Linked DNA regions of Homo sapiens: region 1 is linked to region 2. Evidence: promoter capture Hi-C in 16 types of primary human blood cells and fetal thymus (Javierre and others, 2016). All regions are on one chromosome and are shown on one strand. Each heading gives the region's core, a stretch centred on a gene start or on the middle of the fragment in contact. The rest is flanking DNA. Distances are from core to core; before and after follow the strand shown. Region 1 overlaps LOC107984619 (a long non-coding RNA gene). Region 2 holds the start of ZC3H13 (zinc finger CCCH-type containing 13).

Region 1 (6,291 bases), core at 3,485-5,984, 1.1 Mb before region 2:
TGACAGGCCCCCCTTTGCTGCACACAGCAGCATTCCAATTCTGCAACTGCTTTGAAGCTTCCAGTGGAAATCCTAATGCGGGCGTCATCCCCGCAACTAACCTGCAGTTCTGATGACGCAGAAATCCCCAGCATCAGATTCACCCCAAGGACCTACTGTTTCCATTTTAAAATTCAGGGCACACAAGGCAGGCCTCCCATAAAAGCTGCTGCTCCTCCCAGCCCCTCCTTACCCCTCTTTTGGGAACTTCCCCTTGGAAAGTTGGGAGAAAAGATGGAGAGAGGTCAGAACCAGCATGTTCCAGGTTTCCCCTGAGCTGCTGCTCTGAACACTTACCTATCTTTTGGCAAACAGTTTGTGGCAATAGACAATCCTTCTTCCTTCATCTCTACTGAAAAGAAAACTGGAAGAAATAATGAGTGGTAGGCCAGGTGTCGTGGCATACACTTATAGTCCCAGCACTTTGAGAGGCTGAGACAGGCAGATCATCTAAGATCAGGAGTTCAAAACCAGCCTAGCCAACATGGTGAAGCCTCATCTCTACTAAAAAATACAAAAATTAGCCAGGTGTGGTGGTGCATGCTTGTAATCCTAGCTACTCAGGAGGCTGAGGCAGGAGAATCACTTGAACCCAGGAGGTGGAGGTTGCAGTGAGCCAAGATCACGCCACTGCACTCTCGCCTGGGTGACAGAGCGAGATTCCATCTCAAAAAACAAACAAAGAAAAAAAAGAATTTGGCTTTGCCCAAAGAGAGGTCTGGCCTTTGCCTTCATCTTCTGGGATGAAATCTATGTCATTTCTCATAGGAGGATCTTTGTTTAAGGCAGGGGCTGATCCCTTCAGATTGTAGGGTGGGGCTGGCCATACTCAGTAGTCTTAGGGTGGGAGGTAGTCGTGCTAGAAAGACCAACCATGTGCCTTAGAGTGGGGGCTTTGTGTCACATGGTATCACTCAAGCTGGAGGCTGAGTTCAATCACACAGACAATCAATCAATCATGCGTACATAATGAAGCCCCAATAAAAACTCTGGATAACAAAGTTCAGGTGAGCTTCCCTGGTTGTCAATACTGCATGTATCTTGTCACACATTAGTATCAGGAGGGCCCACACACTCCACATGGAAAGAGGGCAACAGAAGTTTTGCAGTTAGAACCCTCCCAGACTCTGTCCCTTCCTTTGGCTGATTTCAGTCTCTGTCTTTTCCCTGCAGTAAACCATAACTGTGAATATTGCAGCTTCCACTGAGTTATTGGAATCTTTCTAGAACATCATCAAACCTGAGGGTGGTATTGGAAACTCCCCCAAACTTGCAGTTGGTGTTAGAAGTGAGGGCAGTCTTGAAACTGTGCCCTCAAATATTGCAGATTTGCTAAATCTGGGCAAATAGCCTTAAAGCAAAGCATACTGTGATCTGGGTTAGTCCACAAGGAAAACTTTATTTTAGGACAAAATTGCCAAATTCTGAAAATGAGGGTTCTGGAATCCATCTCAAGAGACCTCTTAAAACAGTCTCATCTTCCTTCCAAGGTGTGGTTTGTGCTGACCACAGCAGAGCACCAGCCAGAAGGCCCTAGAGTCCAGAAGGTCCTCATCCAGGGGGTGGACCTCTCTCCACCCCTAAACCTCCAGAGCTTTCCCATCACATTTAGAATGAAATCCAACCCTCTTACCCTTTTTGTGTGTTTGTGCGTGTGCTATTTCCCACTACAGTGTAAATCTAGATAACTGCCAGCACATACTAGACACACTGTAAATGTTTGCTGAATACATGAATAGCCCAAATATAAAGAATATAGAAATGCTTATTTTTGCCAGCAAGATTTCATCTCTGGCTTAATTTTTTCTTAATTGAGATATAATTCAGATTCCATACAATTCAGTCTTTTACAATTCAGGGCTTTTTAGTATGTTTACAAAGTTGTGCAACCTTGTAAATATGGTAAATCACCACTCTTTATGTTAAACTACCACTATTTTAATTTCTCTGGCTTAACTTTAATACCAGTTCATCCTTCCTCTCTACCTTGTGGTTCTAATAGGAGCTGCCAATCATAATACCCCATATTCATCAACCCTAGGCAGGGCCCAGGGCCTAGGCGAGGTCACATTCCCCCAGCACTTTCCAACAGAAACTAAGAAAGACCTTCCTTCTCGGGTGGGGAAGCTGGGAGGAATGAGTACTGAGCCAGAGTGCCCAGATCCCTTGCCATGTGGAAGCAGTTGGTCCATGATAGCTAAGAATAAATCTGACACACAGAGAGAAAACACTGATTCTGATTGTCCCCAAGGCCAGCCATCCCATTCTACTTCACACAGTTTGGTTACATTAGCCAACAATCCTCCCCTAGTGGAGTTCCAATGGCTTTCTGTAACTTGAAACTTAAGGTATTCCAATCAATAAAGTCCTTGTCCTGCTCACACATCCTTCAACACATGCTTATTAAGTGTTTACTGTGTGCACGGCACTGGCCTTGGAGAGTAAAATCTAGCAGGGCCACAACAAGTGTGGTAAATGCAATGAGAGGGAAATGTGCAGAGAAAGCATCTCACCCACAGTCAGGGCAGAAATGACATCTAAGCTAGGACCTAACTTTAGAAAGGAGTAAGTATAGGAAGAGAAGTACACAAGATGCCATGGGAATCAGAAGCAACCAGCATCCACAGGAGAGGTAAGGGAAGCTATAGGAACCATGTGATGTTCGAATTGAGCCTTAAAGGATGGATAAGATGTAGATATTTAGAGAAAGGGCATAAGAGCGTCTCAAGTAGAAGAAAAATTGAGTAAAGGCCAGATACAGGAAACAGTGTGAAATTAACAGGAATCTAGGATACATGGAGGGAAGAGGTAGGAATTAGGCTGCAAAGGCAGATTGGGAGCACTCAGCAAGACAAAGCTCTTCGGGTTTAGGGCAGGGAAGCAGCATGTTCAGCTCTGCGCTGTAACAGCCAGGAGAATGCAAGATAGAGAAGATGGGCAAGATGGGGTCAGGGAAACCAGTGTGGTGCCTATTGCAATAGTCCAGAGAACAAGATGATTTAAACCAGCAGAGTGGCCAGGGAAGTAGATAAGAATATATGTGAGCATAACTGAAGAGGTAGAAATAAGATTTAATAAAATAATAAAATAAATAAATAGTAAAATAAAATAAGCTTTAATTAGACGTGGTGCGAGTGGAGGAGAAAGAGGGACTAAACATGCCAATGATGACAATGATGATGATGGTGATGATGATGACGGTGATGGCCTTAAACTGGGCTAAGCCTTTTATGCGCATTATGTCATTTAATCTTCACAACCCTATGAAGTAGGTCCCATTCTTATCCCCACGTTAGATTCTAGAAAACTGAGGAACAGAGAGATTAAGTAACTCAAACAAGGAGATCTTGGATGACACTAAAAAATAAGTAATCCAAGTAGAAAAGGACTTGGGAAGGAGAAAGAGGTCACTTTTGCACATACTGTGTTGAAGTTGCCTATTTGCATAAAGCTGAGCCCCCAACTTCAGTTTGACTGTATCCCTATGAAACAGGAATAGTCTTACCTACATTTTCTTTCTTTCTTTCTTTCTTTTTTTTTTTTTTTTTTTTTTTTTTTTGAAACAGAGTCTGGCTCTGTCTCCCAGGCTGGAGTGCAGTGGTGCGATTTCGGCTCACTACAACCTCTACCTTCCAGGCTGAAGCCATTCTCCCATCTCAGCCTCCTGAGTAGCTGGGACTACAGGCGTGCACCACCAGCTATTTTTTTGTGTTTTTTGTAGAGACGAGGGGCAGGAGGAAGCGATTTGTGTTTTTTGTAGAGACGGGCGGCGGGGAGGGGTAGAAGACGGTGCCGGGGTTGGGAGGGTGTCTCGCTTTTTTGCCCAAGCTGGCCTGGAACTCTTGAGCTCAAGCTATCCACCCACCTCGGCCTCCCAGAGTGCTAGGATTACAGACATGAGCCACCATGCCGGCCATACCTACATTTTCTTAATGAGTACACAACAAGTTGCAAAATCCCAAGCTTTCTTAAATCAGGATAGATTATGTTGATTGCTCCCCCATCTACCATGGCTGTCACTCTGCGACAAAAGGAAATTAGATTCATCTGATAAGCTTTGTTTTTCACAAAGTAATGTGGGATGATTACCCAGTGCCCTGTGGTCTTCTAGAAGTTTGCAAATTGATTTTTTGATTATTTGTTCCAGTGATTTTCCAAGTAGTCAGTGTTTTTCCAAGTTATTCAGCTTTACAGTGTGGGTGAGTTAAAATTCATATTTGCTTTCATATTAATATATGAAGTGTTAATGTAATTATTTAGGATATTTTTGCATGCGGCATCAGATATACTCTGAGGGAACATACATATGAATCTGCATGACTATAAATACACTTGTTGAGGGGCACAAAGCAATTTTCATGTGGAATCCATCAGAGTTTATGACTATATGCAAAAATGAAAGCATACAGGAACACATGGTTAGTTCAAATACCCCAAACAGGTTAAGCTCATCACTTTCTAGAAATGATTATATATGATGAATTTTTTTAAAAAAAAACTTCACGTAGAAAAATTACTACTATGTTTATGCAGCTATGCTGTGAACACTGACCAAAAATACAAGAGAATATTTTTTTGGCCAGGCACGGTGGCTCACGCCTGTAATCTCAGCACTTTGGGAGGCTGAGGCAGGCGGATCACTTGGGGTCAGGAATTCAAGATCAGCCTGGCCAACATGGTGAAATCCCATCTCTACTAAAAACATAAAACTTAGCTGGGTGCGGTGGCGCACACCTAAAATCCCAGCTAGTCAGGAGGCTGAGACCCGAGAATCGTTCCAACCCAGGAGTCAGAAATTGCAGTGAGCTGAGATCGCGCCACTGCACTCCAGTCTGGGTGACAGAGGGAGACCTTATCTCAAAATAAATAAATAAATAAATAAATAAATAAATAAATAAATAAATAAAAATAATTGAATCTTCTCTGCACTCAATCCCCCTAAGCCCCGCTCCTTGACGCCAGGATTTGGAGAGAGTGGTGTCTGGCTAGAGCACCAGACAGGAATTCAATCTTTTGTGGATACAATCTAAAGTCCAATACTAGGGAATCAGAGAAATAAAATCTCAGAATAGATGTTTCCCGGGTAAAACGAGGGTCTAAGTTAAACGACTGCTAAGGGCCTTTCCAGCTCAAATAGTCTATGAATCTAAAGACTATGAGGATGATGAATGGAAGTTATGGCAAAATGTTTTACAAAAAGGGAAAGCCATAAAAATGCCAAATATAACTGAAGTAACCATCTCCCCACAAAGTGAAACCCTTTCATATCATTAAGTACCTGTCTTCAGAAATATCTACTATGCTCTGAGTCCACCAAATATTACAGCCATCTCAAGAAAGCTTCTGTCAAATCCATGAGGTCAAAACTCTATTTTATGAAAATGAATGATTAATAGGATGAGTAGACATGACAGCCTTCATATAAATGGAATTCACCTGCCATCTGAAAGCAGTTTTGTCTTGCTTTTTGGAGACAGGATCTCACTAGCCCAGAATGGAGTGCAGCAGCAATCATAGCTCACTGCAGCCTCGAACTCCTGGCCTCAAGCGATCCTCCCACCTCAGCCTCTTGAGCAGCTAGGACTACAGGCACGCACCACTGCCTGGCAAATTTTTTTTTTTTTTTTATTTTTTTATTTTTGAGACGGTGTCTCCTTACGCTGTGCAGGCTGGTCTTGGTCTCCAATTCCTGCTCGAGTGATACTCCCACCTCGGCCTCACAAAGTGTTGGGATTATAGCCATGAGCCACTGCCCCTGGCCTAAAAACAAGTTTAAAACAAACAAAAACTACACAGCTTCTGCCTGGCAGCCCCCGGCATCAGCTATCCTCCCTGGCCTTGCCCCTTAGGCTCAGGAGCTGTGAGAGCTGCATTACCCCTTCTTGTTTCCCTAAACCCTAAGAAAAACTTAAATAATCCTTGATTAAGCACTCTGCTAAGAATATATCACGAGTTTCCTACAGGGCCGCGATTGATACAGGGATAATAATATCATCTGAGAGTAAAATAATCTAAAATAATAATCAAAAAATAAAAATAGGCCCGGTGCGGTGGCTCACGCCTGTAATCCCAGCACTTTGGGAAGCCGAGGTGGGTGGATCACCTGAGGTCAGGAGTTCTAGACCAGCCTGACCAACATGGGGAAACCCCATCTCTATTAAAAATACAAGATTAGCTGGGCATGGTGGTGGGCCCCTGTAACCCCAGCTACTCGGGAGGCTGAGGCAGCAGACTCGCCGGAATCCGGGAGGC
Region 2 (5,672 bases), core at 922-3,421:
ACTAAAAATAAGGTATCTTCACATTTATACTTCATATTTTTAGAAAGAAAAATTAACTTTATTTGATGCATAGTTTGAGAGAATTTTTTAAAAAGAACTTTCTAAAACAAACTTTCAGATTGCTTCCGTAAATTTAATGCTAAAACAATTCCAAACTAAATTCCAAATACAACTGACAGAACTAAGCTGACTACATAGGAATTAGCAAAGCAACACTGCAGTACTATGCAGAAAAAACAATTTGTTAAAAAGACTGTGCACAGAAAACATCCCATGCTGGTAGCTACTCTAAAGTGAAGTAAAAAGAACTGCATCATACAAAAATACAAAAAAAAAAGAATAAAAGACTCTTTCTATATCAACAGCAGTTAATGCTTCAACTACTACTAACAGCTGGAGAAATAGCTCCACCTCTATATGAGATGGAGTTGGGAGAGATGAGGAGGTGAGGAAGACTATCATCCACTGAAAACCAACTCTCTAAGTAAATTTAAGTTAAACAATGTGTTTCCTCTATGTAAATGCCAATGCATATTATAAATACTGATGATATTACAATTTTAATAATTTGTAAAGATGTTAAGATACCATCCACTTGCTGGATTTTTAGTATGTTAAATTCATATTACAAATATGAAAATCACATAAGCTTGCAAATCTCAAAATATGCAATGTTCATTTAGAATGACCAGTAATCAGGAAGCCAGTAAGAGGCATACATTTGATAAAACTGAATCCTACCAGATGCACAGAGTGAAAGCCTTAGTTTCAGAGTGCAACTATTTTTAAAGCCGCAATTGTTACAAGCTTGCATCAACTTTGCTAGTCTCTAGTTGAAACTGTCATCTGTTATAATCTAAATAGTTCATTAAGAAAATAAAAATTATTTGAAAATCTATAGATTGTATTCACAAAACGCTCCAATATATTGTACTAAAGCCAGTAATTTCAAATGTTACAGAACTAGACCCCGCTAACTGGCACCATATACCCATAGACTGAACTGCATAAGTATTTATTCTCCAACGGTATCGCGGACTTCGAAAACTTGAGGTGTAAAGATGTTTTCCAAATTTTTAAAACTACTTTAAAAATCCAAAAATCTTAAGAGACTTCATACTCCCATAATTTTCAAAGTAGTTCGAATTACCTGAAAGCCCCATAGTATAACCAAATACCTTAAGACTACCCTTCACAAACAACATCTTACCAACATAATTCAAGTATTATCAACTCTAAATAATTTTCAAACCACATAAATTGCGTTAGCCTATTACAGAGAGATAATGCCGCCAAACAGACTCTCTTCTTTCTATTCCACTTTCCCCCGTTTCTGACAGTTGCCAAAACTACCTACCTAAGGCTTGTGAAGATAAAGTAGCACTCAATTCCCAGGACCTAAATCGTTATCACTGCTGAGGGAAAAAAAAAAAAACAAGACCAATCACAAGTAAGATGTTTTTCTCTAACAGATCTGGAATGAGTATAGAGGAAGATTCTAAATTTAAGCCCAAATTGCTGCACCCTTCCATCGCACACAAATACGAACACCATACAAGGGTTCCCGTGCTTACATCAAATGGTAACGAGGGGTACAGCCTATTGTCTGAGTCTACTTATCGCCCTTAGACAAATGCCAGAATCATAATCAGAGTGAGAAATTACGCCTGAGCACAGGGGGCTATTGCAGAGTTAAGGGTGGGATGCTCAAGGAAAGCTCAAAATCCCAGTGACTCAAGCAAAGACGGGGGGGGGTAACCCGGGCCTCCGCATTACGGGTCCGCTCAATGCCTTCCCCAGATACCCACACCAATTCACAGAACGCTTACTTCCTCCCCAAGCTCCCTTCGCAAGTGCAGTCCGGAGGCACCACCGCCGCCGCCGCTCCGAGGAGCGGGGGAGGCGACTCTGTCCCCGCGCCTGGACCCAGGAGGACGACGACGAGGAGAAAGCGATGCGCGCGCGGCTCCCGGGAACCGGCTCTTGGCTAGCGAGGAGCCCCCGGGATGGCTGAGAAGCAGAACCAACCCGCCCGCCGCCTCTCCAGGGTCAAGCGAAACTGGGTCGCAGGAAGAAAAATAACGAAGAGATTGTAGATTAAGAAAAGGCAACAAAAACACTACCAGGCCGCTAGGAGGACCGCCTCAAAATGCCGCCGGAAGTCAGAGGTTTGCCCTGTTCCTCTGTAGACCCAGGCAGCTTCCGGCCGTCAGATTAGTCGTCAGTGCGCAGACACCACCCTTCGTGGACACGCCCTCTAGGCGTAAGGTTCCATGCGAGCGGTAAGAGTGCGGCGGGACTTGGAAATCGAATCTGTGCTCTGTGAGAGATCCTAGGAAAGGAAACTGGGAGCCCGGGAGAACTAAAATTCCCAATTAAAAGTGAATTTAAGTGAGTTTTCTCTTTTTATTACATAATTCCTTACCATAAACAGCTGTTGTAAATGCGCAAAATGCGGCATTTGTTGACAGTACCTAGAGCCACTCATTCATTCGTTCAACAGTGTTTATTGAGCAGCTGAGCTGGAATGAGAGGCTATGTTTGTCGTTTTTGACACCCCTCCCCTTTCTGGGCCATCGCCTAATTACCGTGGAGCAAACGGAATGCATGGTTGTATTTCTAAAGGCACAAGCAGAAATTTATTGAAAATTTGGAGCAGAAATCTTTAATGTACTTCTGACCACCCTTCCTTTTGTTGAGTAGGATCCAATGATCAGCGTGAGATGATCATTGATTAAACTTGCTTGAGATGGCTAGTCAAACGTCGAAACTTGCTTGAGATGGCTAGTCAAACGTCGAAAATCAAAGAAAAAGTAGGTAACTAGACTTTTACAATTTTTTTTAAAGGGTAAAAAGACATGAACCCTAGTCTGCCTTAATGGCAAAGTAGCACTTATTAGGTTCTCTGACAGAACCAAGGAATAGGAAAATCTTTTATCAAAACTACGGATAAAACTTAAAAATAATTTGATACAATGATTTGGTCTTGCTGGAATCAGTAAATTAAAATACGGAAGCAGAATGATAAAATCAGGGGCATTAAACATTCCTAATGACATGCCAAGCTATTTTAGAGACAGCGGCAAAAGCTTCTCTACAGGTGGGTTTGATGTAACGCTCCGGCAGCAAGAATCCGTATGTGCCCGTATCTCGAAGTTCAATTGTAAACGAATATTTGATGCCCAAATCATAGATCCAATCGTCCCCACCTCCAGGAGCTAGGTCTAAAAGAAGAAGAAAGAAATTGTTGAAATACAGACGTTTCAAATTAATTTACAAACTGGGAATTGTTTGATTTAAATGTTTATTTGTTTGTATACCTTTAGATTTTTTTCAGTTTTTAACTAATATAAACAACTTTACAATGAGTACCCTTGTTTATACATAATTGCTTCTTTGTCTCTTTAGAATATTCTTCCCTAGAATAGATTTGCTAGTCTAAGGCTCTGTACTTTTTGCAATTACGGCATGTTCCCAAATGGACGTCAAAAGAACTGAATTCATTTATACTTCCACAAGCAGGGTATGAATTTGCCCATTTCCCCTTCCCATACCATCAATAGGAATTATGAATTCTGATAATTTTATGGGCGAAAAATAATATCCAACTGTCTTAATTTATGTTTTTTGATTATCAGTGAGTTGCACATTTGTTTGGCATATTTATTGGCTATCTTTATATTTCCTATCAATTGTCCTTCCTCATTTGTCTACTTGGTTCATTTTATCAATTGCTTATAAAAACGACATTAGTGTTATTAGCTTTGTTTGGCATGTAGACCTTTTTTTCTCCTTTCATTCATTTCTCCTTTCACAAGAATTTTTTCTCCTTACTGAGATTTCAACTTGGTTTATGCAGGGTTTTCATATGAAAATATATGCTGTACCTGGAATTTACTTTGGTGAAAGACATGTTAATAATCCAATTAATTTTTTTCTAGGTAACTTGTTAGGTTTTCCAACCGCATTAATTGAATAATCTGACTTTTTTTGGGGGGGTGCTAAATTGAGTCCAGGTTTATGGCAAAGTCTGACCCAAAATTTTAATTTATAATTTTAGCATCTATCTAATACAGTTTGGGAAGCATCTCATGAAAGCTACAATTGCCAGAAGACTTGTTACAGTTTAATGCATGTTAACTAAAATGTGTACATATTTTAGTGTTCATGATAAATACAGTTTCGACCTTTTTTGAGATGGAGTCTCACTCTGTCACCCAGGCTAGAGTGCAGTTGCACAATCTCAGCTCATTGCCACCCCCACCTCCCAGGTTCAAGTAATTCTTATGCATTAGCCAACCAAGTAGCTGGCATTACAGGCGCCTGCCACCATGCCCAGCTAATTTTTGTATTTTTAGTAGAGACAGGGTTTCACCATGTTGGCCAGTCTGGTCTCGAACTCCTGACCTCAAGTGATCCTCCTGCCTCAGCCTCCCAAAGTGCTGGTATTACAGGCATGAGCCACAGCACCTGGCCTCTTTTTGTTTTTTTCTAATCATTAAAAAAAAAAAAAAAAGGAAAAACCTGGATTTGGCCTTCAGGCTGTAGTTTTCTGATGCCTGGTTACAGGTTTATTTTATGCTCCTCTTTTCCCATCTCCCTTCAAACTTCAAAAGGGCAAAATCAGTCTGTCCTCCCACTGTGTGTAGATAGGAGTTACTCACTAAATATCTTTCAGCAAAAATTAATCAAAACTTTTTGTTAAGAGTTTGTCACAAGTTTTGTGTGTGTAATATATATTAAAGACAATCAACTGTAATGTGTTATGAGCTATACTCTTGGGAACAGGCTAACACTAAAAAACACTTGATGCAAATGGCATGCCCTAGATTAGTGTAGTGTACAACCTGCACAACCTTCCATGGTGGCCCTGGGAATCATGCAAAAGTTTTATGAACTTTTCTGCTTCACTCAACTAGTATGATGCCAATTCTGTAATTCCTACTTGATTGTGATAAATATGATTTCTTAAATAGGATTTTGGCTTCTTTTTAGTAACTCATTTATTAATATAGCTTTGTTCAGCATTGTCATAGCTATTATGCTTCTGTTCCTAATTATTACAATTCAGTTGTATTACATGTGACCCTATTTAATTCAGAAAAATTAAATACACAAAGAAAAACAGATCACACAGATTTCTTTAGTAGCTCAAAGTTCTCTAAGATCATAAGAAGAAATACTTACATAAGGTTTCTGAGCCATGGCCATGTGTATACCTGGTATTTTTACTAATTTTCTCAATAGCACGAACTGCTTCACTGGCTACTAGAGACTGGAAGCAACAAGATATAGAATTTCAGTTAATGTGCAGCTTTGAAACATGACAAGTAGAAGTTTCTAAAAAATAATCATACATTAATTGAATCAAAGTATACAGGTAGAAAATCTAGATTCATCTAAAAGGCAAATAAATAAGGTAAACAAATTAATTTAAAATATGTGCACTTTATGGCAATCACAATTGGGTGGCTTTAAACATAAACTATTTCAATATATTGAAATAATTTATATAAATAAATATATTAATTTGCAGAAAAAAATTATCACATGCCTTTTTGGGAACTCATTTATTATGGAAAATGAAGTATAACTACATCTCAAAGGCTTAGAGGTACTCCATTTCTGAACAAAATTATCACCAAACTTTAAATCCAACCTTTCTAAACACA

The links. Contacts are between HindIII fragments. The CHiCAGO score rates a contact against its expected background, and 5 or more counts as called.
Region 1: a fragment that was not itself captured here is called in contact with the fragment with the promoter of ZC3H13 in region 2 in 1 of 17 cell types (total CD8 T cells); the score reaches 5.1 in total CD8 T cells.

The regions. Positions count from the first base shown.
Region 1 is chr13:44,910,417-44,916,707 of GRCh38, forward strand. The region is part of intron 1 of LOC107984619 (a long non-coding RNA gene); the gene reads right to left. Among named protein-coding and RNA genes, the nearest start is that of TRE-TTC2-1, 4.4 kb to the right of the region's middle. The HindIII fragment of the contact is 1,285 bases long and covers 4,093-5,377 here.
Region 2 is chr13:46,050,575-46,056,246 of GRCh38, forward strand. It overlaps ZC3H13 (zinc finger CCCH-type containing 13), which reads right to left and starts at 2,172. Exons shown (of 19, transcript NM_001330564.2): 1 at 1,830-2,172. CPB2 (carboxypeptidase B2) reads right to left here. Exons shown (of 11, transcript NM_001872.5): 10 at 5,188-5,275; 11 at 2,612-3,224. The coding sequence ends at 3,040. It overlaps CPB2-AS1 (CPB2 antisense RNA 1), which reads left to right and starts at 2,274. Exons shown (of 3, transcript NR_046227.1): 1 at 2,274-2,391. RefSeq lists enhancers at 1,356-1,892, 1,893-2,428, 1,958-2,127, 2,138-2,337. The HindIII fragment of the contact is 2,282 bases long and covers 806-3,087 here.